Regions from separate parts of the Homo sapiens genome. Here regions 2 and 3 are each linked to region 1. Evidence: promoter capture Hi-C in 16 types of primary human blood cells and fetal thymus (Javierre and others, 2016). All regions are on one chromosome and are shown on one strand. The core of a region is centred on a gene start or on the middle of the fragment in contact, and the rest is flanking DNA. Distances in the headings are between cores, read along the strand shown. Region 1 holds the start of C1QTNF2 (C1q and TNF related 2). Region 2 has its middle 21 kb from the start of PWWP2A. Region 3 has its middle 9.1 kb from the start of FABP6-AS1.

Evidence for each region. The method cuts DNA at HindIII sites, captures the fragments that hold promoters and counts their contacts. A CHiCAGO score of 5 or more calls a contact.
Region 2: a fragment that was not itself captured here is called in contact with the fragment with the promoter of C1QTNF2 in region 1 in 1 of 17 cell types (neutrophils); the score reaches 6.1 in neutrophils.
Region 3: a contact is called between a fragment that was not itself captured here and the fragment with the promoter of C1QTNF2 in region 1, in 2 of 17 cell types (neutrophils and M1 macrophages). The highest score is 13.2, in neutrophils.

Annotation. Positions count from the first base shown.
Region 1 is chr5:160,368,778-160,372,136 of GRCh38, reverse strand. C1QTNF2 (C1q and TNF related 2) reads left to right here and starts at 1,511. Exons shown (of 3, transcript NM_031908.6): 1 at 1,511-1,625. The HindIII fragment of the contact is 8,188 bases long and covers 171-3,359 here.
Region 2 is chr5:160,138,941-160,142,299 of GRCh38, reverse strand. No RefSeq gene overlaps it. Among named protein-coding and RNA genes, the nearest start is that of PWWP2A, 21 kb to the right of the region's middle. The HindIII fragment of the contact is 6,590 bases long and covers 1-3,359 here.
Region 3 is chr5:160,217,521-160,220,879 of GRCh38, reverse strand. It overlaps a transcript of FABP6 not described here. Among named protein-coding and RNA genes, the nearest start is that of FABP6-AS1, 9.1 kb to the right of the region's middle. The HindIII fragment of the contact is 5,834 bases long and covers 1-3,359 here.

The sequences.
Region 1 (3,359 bases), core at 262-2,761:
CAGCCATCTGTGTATCAACACCCTAAACTCCACTCCACATGTTATCATTCCTTCATTTTTTGAGCTCACACTTCCCCTACATTCAGACAAGTCTCAGTCATCTCTCAGGGTTCACCTGAAACATCAGTTTCCCAGGCCTTCCCCTGACTGCCCAGTTTATACTTTAAGCTTTTCTTTTCTATAACACTCATTTCACTTGTAACCACTTGTGTCATCCCCAGCTGGAGGACTCTAAGTTTCATGAGGGTAGGCATCAAGCCTATTTGTTTCCCTCTATGTCCCCAGCACCTTGCTTGGGGACTGACACACAATGGATGCTTATTAAATATTTGTTGAATGAATGTTTGTTAAGCCTACAAACTTTCTTTCTCAAATAGTATTTATGTGATATTAGTAATAATTCCCTACATAGTTCAATGGCTTACCAAACATCTTTATGAGTTAGTGTCCCAACTTTGGGGTAAAGGCAGTGCAGGTAATATTATTCTCCCATTTTTTTTAGAAAATAAAACACCATCTGTGAGATTATCTGACTTGATTAAGGTGGTGGATACAACATTAGAATTCAAATGCATATCTGTATTAAAATTCTGACTGTAAATTTTGTGTCACTTACCAGCTGTTAACCAGATGCTCTGGCTGTGCAGAGTGAAATATGGGTAGCTAGTGGAAGAGAGCAGTGGAAGGAACAGGGAGAAGCAAAAGCCAGGCCTTGGAGGATTTCCTTTCCTCCAGTGCCTGCTTGATTCCCAAATAGGATTGCTTTGCCTATCCTGGGAGCTGAGACCCTCCATAAGTCTCTCAATGACTTGAGGCTGGGCCAGAGTGAGTGAGACCAGTGAATCCTCACCTTCTGGGGAGAAGAGAAATGAGAGCTGGTACACAGGGGAACTCACCCACACTAGTGTGTATGTGCACACTCACATCCGGACAAAATCCACACCAAGGCATGCATAGAAATCAACACATAGAATGAGCCACTGCACAGTCATACACACATTTAAACATACACCCCACATACAGATGTCAAACCAACACACAGAATGAGCCCCTGCACAGTCACACACACATTTAAACATGCACCCCACATACAGATGTCTAGCCACTATCGTGTACATCCAACCACTGATGTGCCCTCCAGTTTTACACCAAGCTGCCATCTTGGACATGTGCATGCATGTGTACATACACCGAACAGCCCTGATGAAAATTTGGATAAACGCACGTACGCACACACACAACTAAACACATCCCTATGATTTATCATCACACTCAAGTACATGCACACCTTTGCAAACGCGTGGGAAACAATCACTCTGATCACTCTGGCGCACAAAACCTCCAAATACGCTAACAAGCTCTACAAACGCAGAGATGCATCGACACACCCGAGTTGTCATCAGCACTGCAAGTTTTTTCCAAACAGCTGCTAAAAAGAGAATGCTGCGCTGCGGGCCAGCCCACGTGACCGGGAGGAAGGCTCTCCCGCCCATGACGGGATGGGAAAACTATGCCTGGGGCCGACGCTCTGCCCGGCTGCTGCCGCTGAGGAAAGCCGGGACGCGGAGCCCCGCCGAGAGCTTCTTTGCTCCGGACGCCCCTGGACGTGGCGGGCAGCCGCGAGGGTGAGTGTCCCGCACCGCGGTCGGGCGGGGGCGGCAAGTGCGCGCGGGGAGGAGGAGGAGGAGGACTCGCACTGCTGCGGGCGGGGCGGGATGCGGAAGGTGGGAGAGCTGCCAGCGCGCCTTTATTGCGGGCTGGGCAGCTCCTGCATTCCTGCCTCTCGACTTCTACCTTCGTATTATAATACAAATTAACATGTTTTGAGTCCTTACTGTGTGCCAGGCTCTGTGCCCAGTGGTTTACCCGTTACAATAGTAACACCCGTAGCTCTGCCATTTATTGAGCGCCTACTTTGTGCCAAGTCCTGCTAGCACTTTACTTGTGCTCTTTCATTTTCATGACAACAGATTATCCCCGTCTACAAAAGAGGAACTGGGCTCAGAGACATTAATGACTTGGACAGGGTTGCACAGCTAGTAATTGATAAAAAAGGGACTTGAAGTCTGGTAAATCTGAGTCCAATACCCGAGCTAACAATCACAGTTAACATTTACTGAATGCATTATTTCACTTAACCTTCACATTTATTTAAATATATGATACAGACTGGCAAACTGAGCTCAAAAGGTATTGAACGGCAGGCAGAGATTTGTACTCAATGCCTCATGACTCTCTTCACTCTCCTTCCCCACCTAAACTACTTGTCTTAATATGCTTTGTCCTTATTTCTCCATCCCCACTGCTGCTGCCCCATTCTAGGACCTCGCTTTTCAGCTAAATAATTGCAGTGGGCCCTAATAGTCTCCCAGCCCAGGTCTCTCCTCTGACACCATGAGTCCCTTGCATTACCTCATTGTGATCCTCCTCTGCTCCTTGACCACAAAATTGCCCTGCTTGGAAGCCTGCAGAGGTCCCTTCCTTAGACTGGCCATCTCTCAGAGACCCTGTGTTTCCACCATGCTGAAGTAGCAGTAATAGAAAGACAATGTCTTACATAGGTCAATCCAAGGCTGGTGCTCAGTTAGCACTGTTAAAAATCTGTCCTCTCACATCCTTATTTTTGCCCTCCCTCTGCACCATTCTCTAATTTATTCTGTCATCTGGAGTAATTATATCAATTACTCCTGCTTTCAACTGCCCGATCCTCAAACTCTCCACACATTTCCAAGCATCACTACAGCCCTTCATTGTAACACATCAGATTCACTGCAGAATTTGTTTCCTCCCAAATGTCTGACTTCTCCCCATCTCCTAGCAGGGATACCACACTTACCAGTCTTCCAATCCTTAAACCTTAGGTTTACCTTTTGTTTTAAATGTTATAAAAGTAACGACGCTCATCACAAGAAATTCGAACAGTTCAAAAAGGTAGAAAGAGAAAAGTAAAAGCCCACACACCCCCTCCCAATTCTGAAAGGTAACCCCTTAACAAGATTGTGTCTTTTCGGAAAGTATTTCCCCAACCCTTCTGTACATATATATACTCTGTATTTGTGCTGTTTTTTTTTTTTTTAAACTCAAAGAGAAGCATACTTTACATTCCATGGTACAACTTGCTTTTTTCACTTAACAGTGTGTCTTCGCCATGTTTTCATATCTGCATATACAGGCTTACTTTGTTCTTCTAATGGGCATAGTGTGTCATTGTATGGATGAACTGAGATTATTTTTCACAAGGCTGGAGTCACGTTTGAAGCCACTCTGTCTCCATTGAATGTTCAGCAAGTTCTCCAAGGTGTCACTTTTTTCCTCTGCAAATCTCCCTATTCCTCCCCCCTGTCTCGCTATTCCTTCTC
Region 2 (3,359 bases), core at 395-2,894, 230 kb after region 1:
CACAAAGGCCATCAGTGGTTTTACCAAACAGACATTCTTCTCTAACAGCGACTAATATGATTAGTACTGGGTCCAGGCAGGTGAGCAGTTATAAGGGTGAGTTTTGGGTTAAGGCCTAACGGGGGCTAGGTCTTCAATTTTTGGTGGGCTTCAGGTCACCTGTGGAGACTTTTCAATACATCCCAGGGCCACATCCCTGGGAAATCTCAAGTTGGTGGCTTTAAGTAGGGCCTGGTAATCTTCATTTTTCTCATGCTTAGCCAGGGATGAAAACAATAGCATTGTCATTTTGAACTCTGGCTCTACCACCCTCCATCTGGGTGACCTTGAGCAAGTTATTTAACCTCTTTGAGACTCAATTTCTTTCTTTTTTTTGAAACAGAGTCTCACTCTGTCACCGGGGCTGGAGTGCAGTGGTGCGATCTTGGCTCACTGCAACCTCCACCTCCCAGGTTCAAATGACTCTCCTGCCTCAGCCTCCCCAGTATCTGGGATGACAGGTGCCTGCCACTATACCCAGCTAATTTTCTGTATTTTTAGCAGAGACAGAGTTTCACCATGTTGTCCAGGCTGGTCTCGATCTCTTGACCTCGTGATCCACCCGCCTCGGCCTCCCAAAGTGCTGGGATTACAGGCGTGAGCCACTGTGCTCGGCCTGAGACTCAATTTCTTAACGTATAGAATGAAAATAATAATATCTACCCATAGGGCTATCATGAAGATGGAATGATATTAATATACAAGAAATGCTTATTAATGTAGTCCTTGCCATGTAGTAAACATCCCGAACATGGTAGTTATTTTTGTTAGCTTTTTTGTATAACAATAGAATATTCTTTTGGTAAGATTGGCAATGGGAATGATTTATTATAGAAATCATAGAATACTATGTATCCATAAAAAATGATGAGTTCATGTCCTTTGTAGGGACATGGATGAAGCTGGAAACCATCATTCTCAGCAAACTATCACAAGGACAAAAAACCAAACACCGCATGTTCTCACTCATAGGTGGGAATTGAACAATGAGAACACATGGACACAGGAAGGGGAATATCACACACCGGGGCCTGTTGTGGGGTGGGGGGAGCGGGGAGGGATAGCATTAGGAGATATACCTAATGTTAAATGACGAGTTAATGGGTGCAGCACACCAACATGGCACATGTATACATATGTAACAAACCTGCACATTGTGCACATGTACCCTAAAACTTAAAGTATAATTTAAAAAAATAATTAAAAAAAAAAAGAAATCCTGACCCACGGCAGACTGCCAAATGTTTCTTATATCACATGCCAGGTAGAACGGAGATATTTTCAAATTAAATTCTCTTCTCAGGAAGTTTCCTTTGAACTACTGAGATGGAATTTCACTGTTGTTGCCCAGGCTGGAATACAATGGCATGATCTTGGCTCACTGTAACCTCTGCCTCCCAGGTTCAAGCAATGCTCCTGCCTCAGCCTCCCCGAGTAGCTGGTATTACAGGTGCCCACCACCACATCTGTTCGTGTTCTTAGTAGAGACGAGGTTTCACCATGTTGGCCAGGCTGGTCTCGAACTCCTGATCTCAGGTGATCCACCCACCTCAGCCTCCCAAAGTGCTGGGATTACAGGTGTGAGTCACTGCGCCCGGCCTATTTTTGTCATTTATAATCTCTAGCATTTCCTGGGGGAGAGCATGGTCTCTCCTTTTTGTTTCAGTTGGAATTTGGCTCCATCACTTACTAGTTATGACATGACCCTGAAGAAACTAGATCACAGTTCTAAGCTATGGAGTCTGACAAATCAGGTTTGCAGCCTTGGCTCAGCCATTACTGGCTGTATTACCTTGGGCAAGTCACTTCTCTTTTCTTTCTTTTTTTATTTTTTTGTTACAGAGTCACTCTGTTGCCCAGGCTAGAGTGCAATGGCGCAATCTTGGCTCACTGCAACCTCCGCCTCCCAGGTTCAAGCGATTCTCCTGCCTCAGCCTTCTGAGTAGCTGGGATTACAGGCATCTGCCACCACGCCCTGCTAATTATTGTATTTTTAGTAGAGATGGGGTTTCCATGTTGGCCAGGCTGGTCTCGAACTCCTGACCTCAAGTGATCCACCCGCCTTGGCCTCCCAAAGTGCTGGGATTACAGGTGTGAGCCACTGCGCCCAGCCCATGCCTGACTTCTAATGCCTAAGAGGAAACATGCTCAGTACTAATCTTCTCCACCTCCAAATTCAAATCCTGAAGTTGCAGATTTGGAAGATGGGGAATTAGGGAAGCTATGATCATGCTGCTGCATTCCAGCCTGGGCAATAGAGTGAGACACTGTTTCAAAAAAAAGAAATCTGGCATGATTTCTCTGAGGGCTGAGCTTCTGAAAGTGAGCCAGGAGGTGGACAAGTCAGAAATCAACTGAGGTCGTGTGTAATGGCTCATGCCTGTAATCCCAACACTTTGGGAGACTGAGGCAGAAGGATTGCTTGAACCCAAGAATTTGAGAGCAGCCTGAGCAACATACTGAGACCCCATCTCTTCGTTTGTTTGTTTTTGAGACAGTCTCACTCTGTTGCCCAGGCTGGAGTGCAGTGGCGCAATCTCGGCTCACTGCAACCTCTGCCTCCCAGGTTCAAGGGATTCTCCTGCCTCAGCCTCCTGAGTAGCTGGGACTACAGGCATGCGCCACCACGACTGGCTAAATTTTTCTATTTTTAGTAGAGATAGGGTTTCACCATGTTGGTCAGGCTGGTCTCCAAGTCCTGACCTCAAATGATCCACCCACCTCGGCCTCCCAAAGTGCTGGGATCATAGGCGTGAGCCACCGTGCCCGGCTGTAAGACCCCATCTCTACAGAAAAAAATTAAAAAATTAGCCTAGGCAACAAAGCAAAACCTTGTTTCAGAATAAATAAATACATACATTTTAACTCAGACATGGTAAGCTCAGTCCTAAATCCTCTGTCCTGTGGGAAAGAGGAGGAAGTGGAGTGGTAACTCCACCGCAGACCCTGGTCTCCCGGGGCCTTGAGCACTGCCTGGAAGATGCAGATGAAGCCTTGGAGTGGCCCTAGTATATATAGCCGTGGCCTCCACTGGATATGGGGCACTGGAGTTTTTCTCTATGGGCTGGATTCAAGCACCAGAGCTTCCTGACATTTCCCATCAGAAGGGAAAATGAGAAAGGTGGGTAGATGGAAATCTCTCTTCCATATTCATGCAGAATGAAGGCAGATGTGTTGATTTCCTTTTAAGTACTTGTGTCACTTCAACTGTAATTACCTTTTCCCAAATTCAAGAACAGAGTGGGGTGAGGAGGGTGAGGAAAGGATATGAATCTATAATAAGATTCTAAAAGAATTAAAATCTCATCAAATTTTTACCC
Region 3 (3,359 bases), core at 576-3,075, 150 kb after region 1:
CTGATCTCAAATGATCCACCCACCTCAGCCTCCCAAACTGCTGGGATTACAGGCGTGAGCCACGGCGCCCGGTCTGTCCTCAAATCTTGTAGGAGACACAGTCCCATAAACAGGCAGTTACAACATGATGTGATCAAAGAAATAAAGACTGTAACATAAGGATATTTTTGGAACACAGAAACATTACCCGACCACTTCCTGAGTATGAGGGAAGGCTAATATGAGAAGAATTAACAAATAAGGCAAAGCCTTATTTATTATTAATAATAATTATTATTATTATTAGGCAGGGTCTCACTCTGTCACCCAGGGTGGAGTGCAGTGGCACAATCAGCCTCAGCCTCACAGGCTCAAGAGATCTTCCTGCCTCAGCCTCCCAAGTGGCAGGGACCTCAGGCATGCTCCACCACGCACGGCTAATTTTTTAACTTTTAGTAGAGACGAGGCCTCACTTGTTACCCAGGCTTGTCACAAACTCCTGGACTCAAGCGATCCTTCTGCCTTGGCCTCCCAAAGTCCTGGGATTACAGGTGTGAGCCATCACCTGGCCTCATTCATTATTATATGGGGAAAAAAATACCGATCTTCCAGAGTTTTAATGAGATTAAATGAAAGTACATAGCAAAAGTGCTTAGTACAGGATCTAGCATTTCACAGGTGATTGTTGAAGGATATCTACTGTTATTCTCACTCACTGGCAATTCGTCCAGCCTAGCTGCCTATTTTGAACTACTGTTTATATATTGCAGCATTAATTTAACCCTTCACAAAGTGAGTCTTTTATCTCCCAACTACATTGTGATCCCTTCCAGGCCTCAAGCTGCATTTCATTTTTCCTTCTGTATGTATTCCTGGTGGGTACTGGGATAGTGTTGATTTCACTTTATTTGTTCAGATCTATGTGGAATAGGCTGTAAGGCTGTGTTCATACGCTACTGGGGATGTAGGAAGGGAGGGCTTGTGAAAAATAGAAATCCCTGTGACCTGACCCCCCAAAATTCTGGTTTGGTAGGTCTGGGGTGGGGCCCTAGAATCTGCATTTTGACAAACTCCCCAGTGATTGTACTGCTCAGCAGCCTTGAGAAGCTCTAGGCCAGGGGATGTGGGCAAGAAGGACCAAGTGGCTTCTCCAGGCCCCCGCTTAACTCCCTTTCCCATTGATTTCCTTCTGCACGGTCAGAGCTGTTTTTTTCCTTAGTTGCTACTCTTCCAAGGTCAGTGTCCAAGGCAGGATGGGAGTGGTGGGGCTATGGGAAAGGATGACATTGGCACTCAGCTGACTGACTCAGCCATGCTCCCACCCCTTCCCTAGAGTCTAAGTGTACATCTGACCCTCCACCTTCCATCCACCCATGCCCGCCTCTTCCCCTCTTCTCCTGGGTTTACCTATTTGTTCAGACCCTCATTGAGAACCTCCCCGGAGGGGTGAATGAACTCAAACTGCCTCCATATCACAGTGAAGTTTTATGAGGCAATAGAACCAATAGAACAACTATACCCCAATAGAGATAAAGAAGAGCCCAAGGCTAATTCCCCTGGGCCACCCCAGCTTTCCACCTGAACTCTGGCCCCTGCCTCAGCCAGCTACCATTATTCTCAGAGTAATGCCTGGAGAAGGGGGTGGGAATACAGGTTCTTGAGTCCATGGGTGAGGAGGAGCCCTGGGCACCCTCCTATTCTCTCCATCCCCAGGACCTTACAGGTCTTGCATAGAGTAAGTGAACTATCAGAGTTATCAATTCCTTGATTAAACTCCCCTTCCTCTTTCCTCCACTAAAATCTGAAATACTAGTTGGCATCGATCCCTAGAATGTCAGAGCTAACTGGAGCCTCTGAGAACAATATTTTCCCATGATGATACTTCTAGTTTTACTCTCAAGAATCAAAGACCAGGAGTTTGAGATCAGTGTGGCCTACATAGTAAGACCCTGGCTCTAAAAAAATTAAAAAACAATTAGCTAGGCATGGTGGCTTGCGCCTGTAGTCCTAGCTACTGAGGAGGCTGAGGTGGGAGGATCACTTGAGTCCAGGAGTTTGAGGCTACAGTGAGCTATGATTGTGCCACTACAATCCAGCCTGGGTGACAGAATGAGACCCCAACTCATAAAAAAAAAAAAAAGGCCAGGCGCAGTGGCTCATGCCCGTAATCCCAACACTTTGGGAGGCTGAGGTGGGAGGATCACCTGAAGTCAAGAGTTCTAGACCACCCTAACCAACATGGCGAAACCCCGTCTCTACTAAAAATACAAAAATTAGCCAGGCATGGTGGCGGGTGCCTGTAATCCCAGCTACTCAGGAGGCTGAGGCAGGAGAACTGCTTGTACTCGGGAGGCAGAGGTTGCAGTGAGCTGAGATCGCGCCTTTGCACTCCAGCCTAGGAGACAGAGTGAGACTCCATCTCAAAAAAAAAAAAAAAAAGTCAAAGACTAAGATAAGAAAATCCAGTTGGCGCTTTGTTTATCCACAATGAGACACGAAAGAGACAGAGACTCTAGGCACAGGCTGCCTAGGTTTGAATCCCAGCTCTGTCACTTACTGGTTCTGTGGCCTTGGGCACCTTATTTATTTTTTTGTGTCTCAGTTTTCTCATCTGCAAAATCTGGATAATAATGGTGCCTATCTGAAGGGGATGTTACTAATGTTAAGTGAGTTCAGCCAGGGGTGGTGGCTGCCACCTGTAGTCTCAGTGACTCAGGAGGCCAGAGGCCAGGAATTGGAGACCAGCCTGGGCAACACAGCAAGAACTTGTCCCTAAAAAAAACAAACAGAAAACCTAAGCTAGGCATGGTGGCCTGTGTCCGTAGTCCCCCTGCTACTCGAGGGGCTAAAAGAAGGATCGTTTGAGCCCAGGAGTTCAAGGCTGCAGTGAGCTATGTTTGTGCCACTGCACTACCTCCTGGGTGACAGAGCAAGACTTGACTCTAAAATAAATAAATAGGCCAGGCACAGAGGCTCATGCCTGTAATCCCTCCTCTTTGGGAGCCTGAGGTGGGAGATTTGCTTGAGCCCAGGAGTTTGAGATGAGCCTGGGCAACATAGGGAGACCCCATCTCTACAAAAAATAAAATAAAGTAAATCAACTGGGCATGGTGGCATGTGTCTGTAGTCCCAGCTAGTCAGGAGACTGAGGTGGGAAGATCACTTGAGCGTAGGAGTGGAAGGCTACAGTGAGCCATGATCATGCCGCTGCACTGCAGCTTGGGCAACAGAGAGAGATTCTGTCCAAAAATAATAATAATAATAAAATAAATAAATAAATAAGATAAAATAAAATAAATAAATGAGTTCATTTTTGTAAAGTACTTTTCGCAGCACCTGGCACAGAGTATATAAGAGTGTGTTAAGTGAGTGTGTTAAGT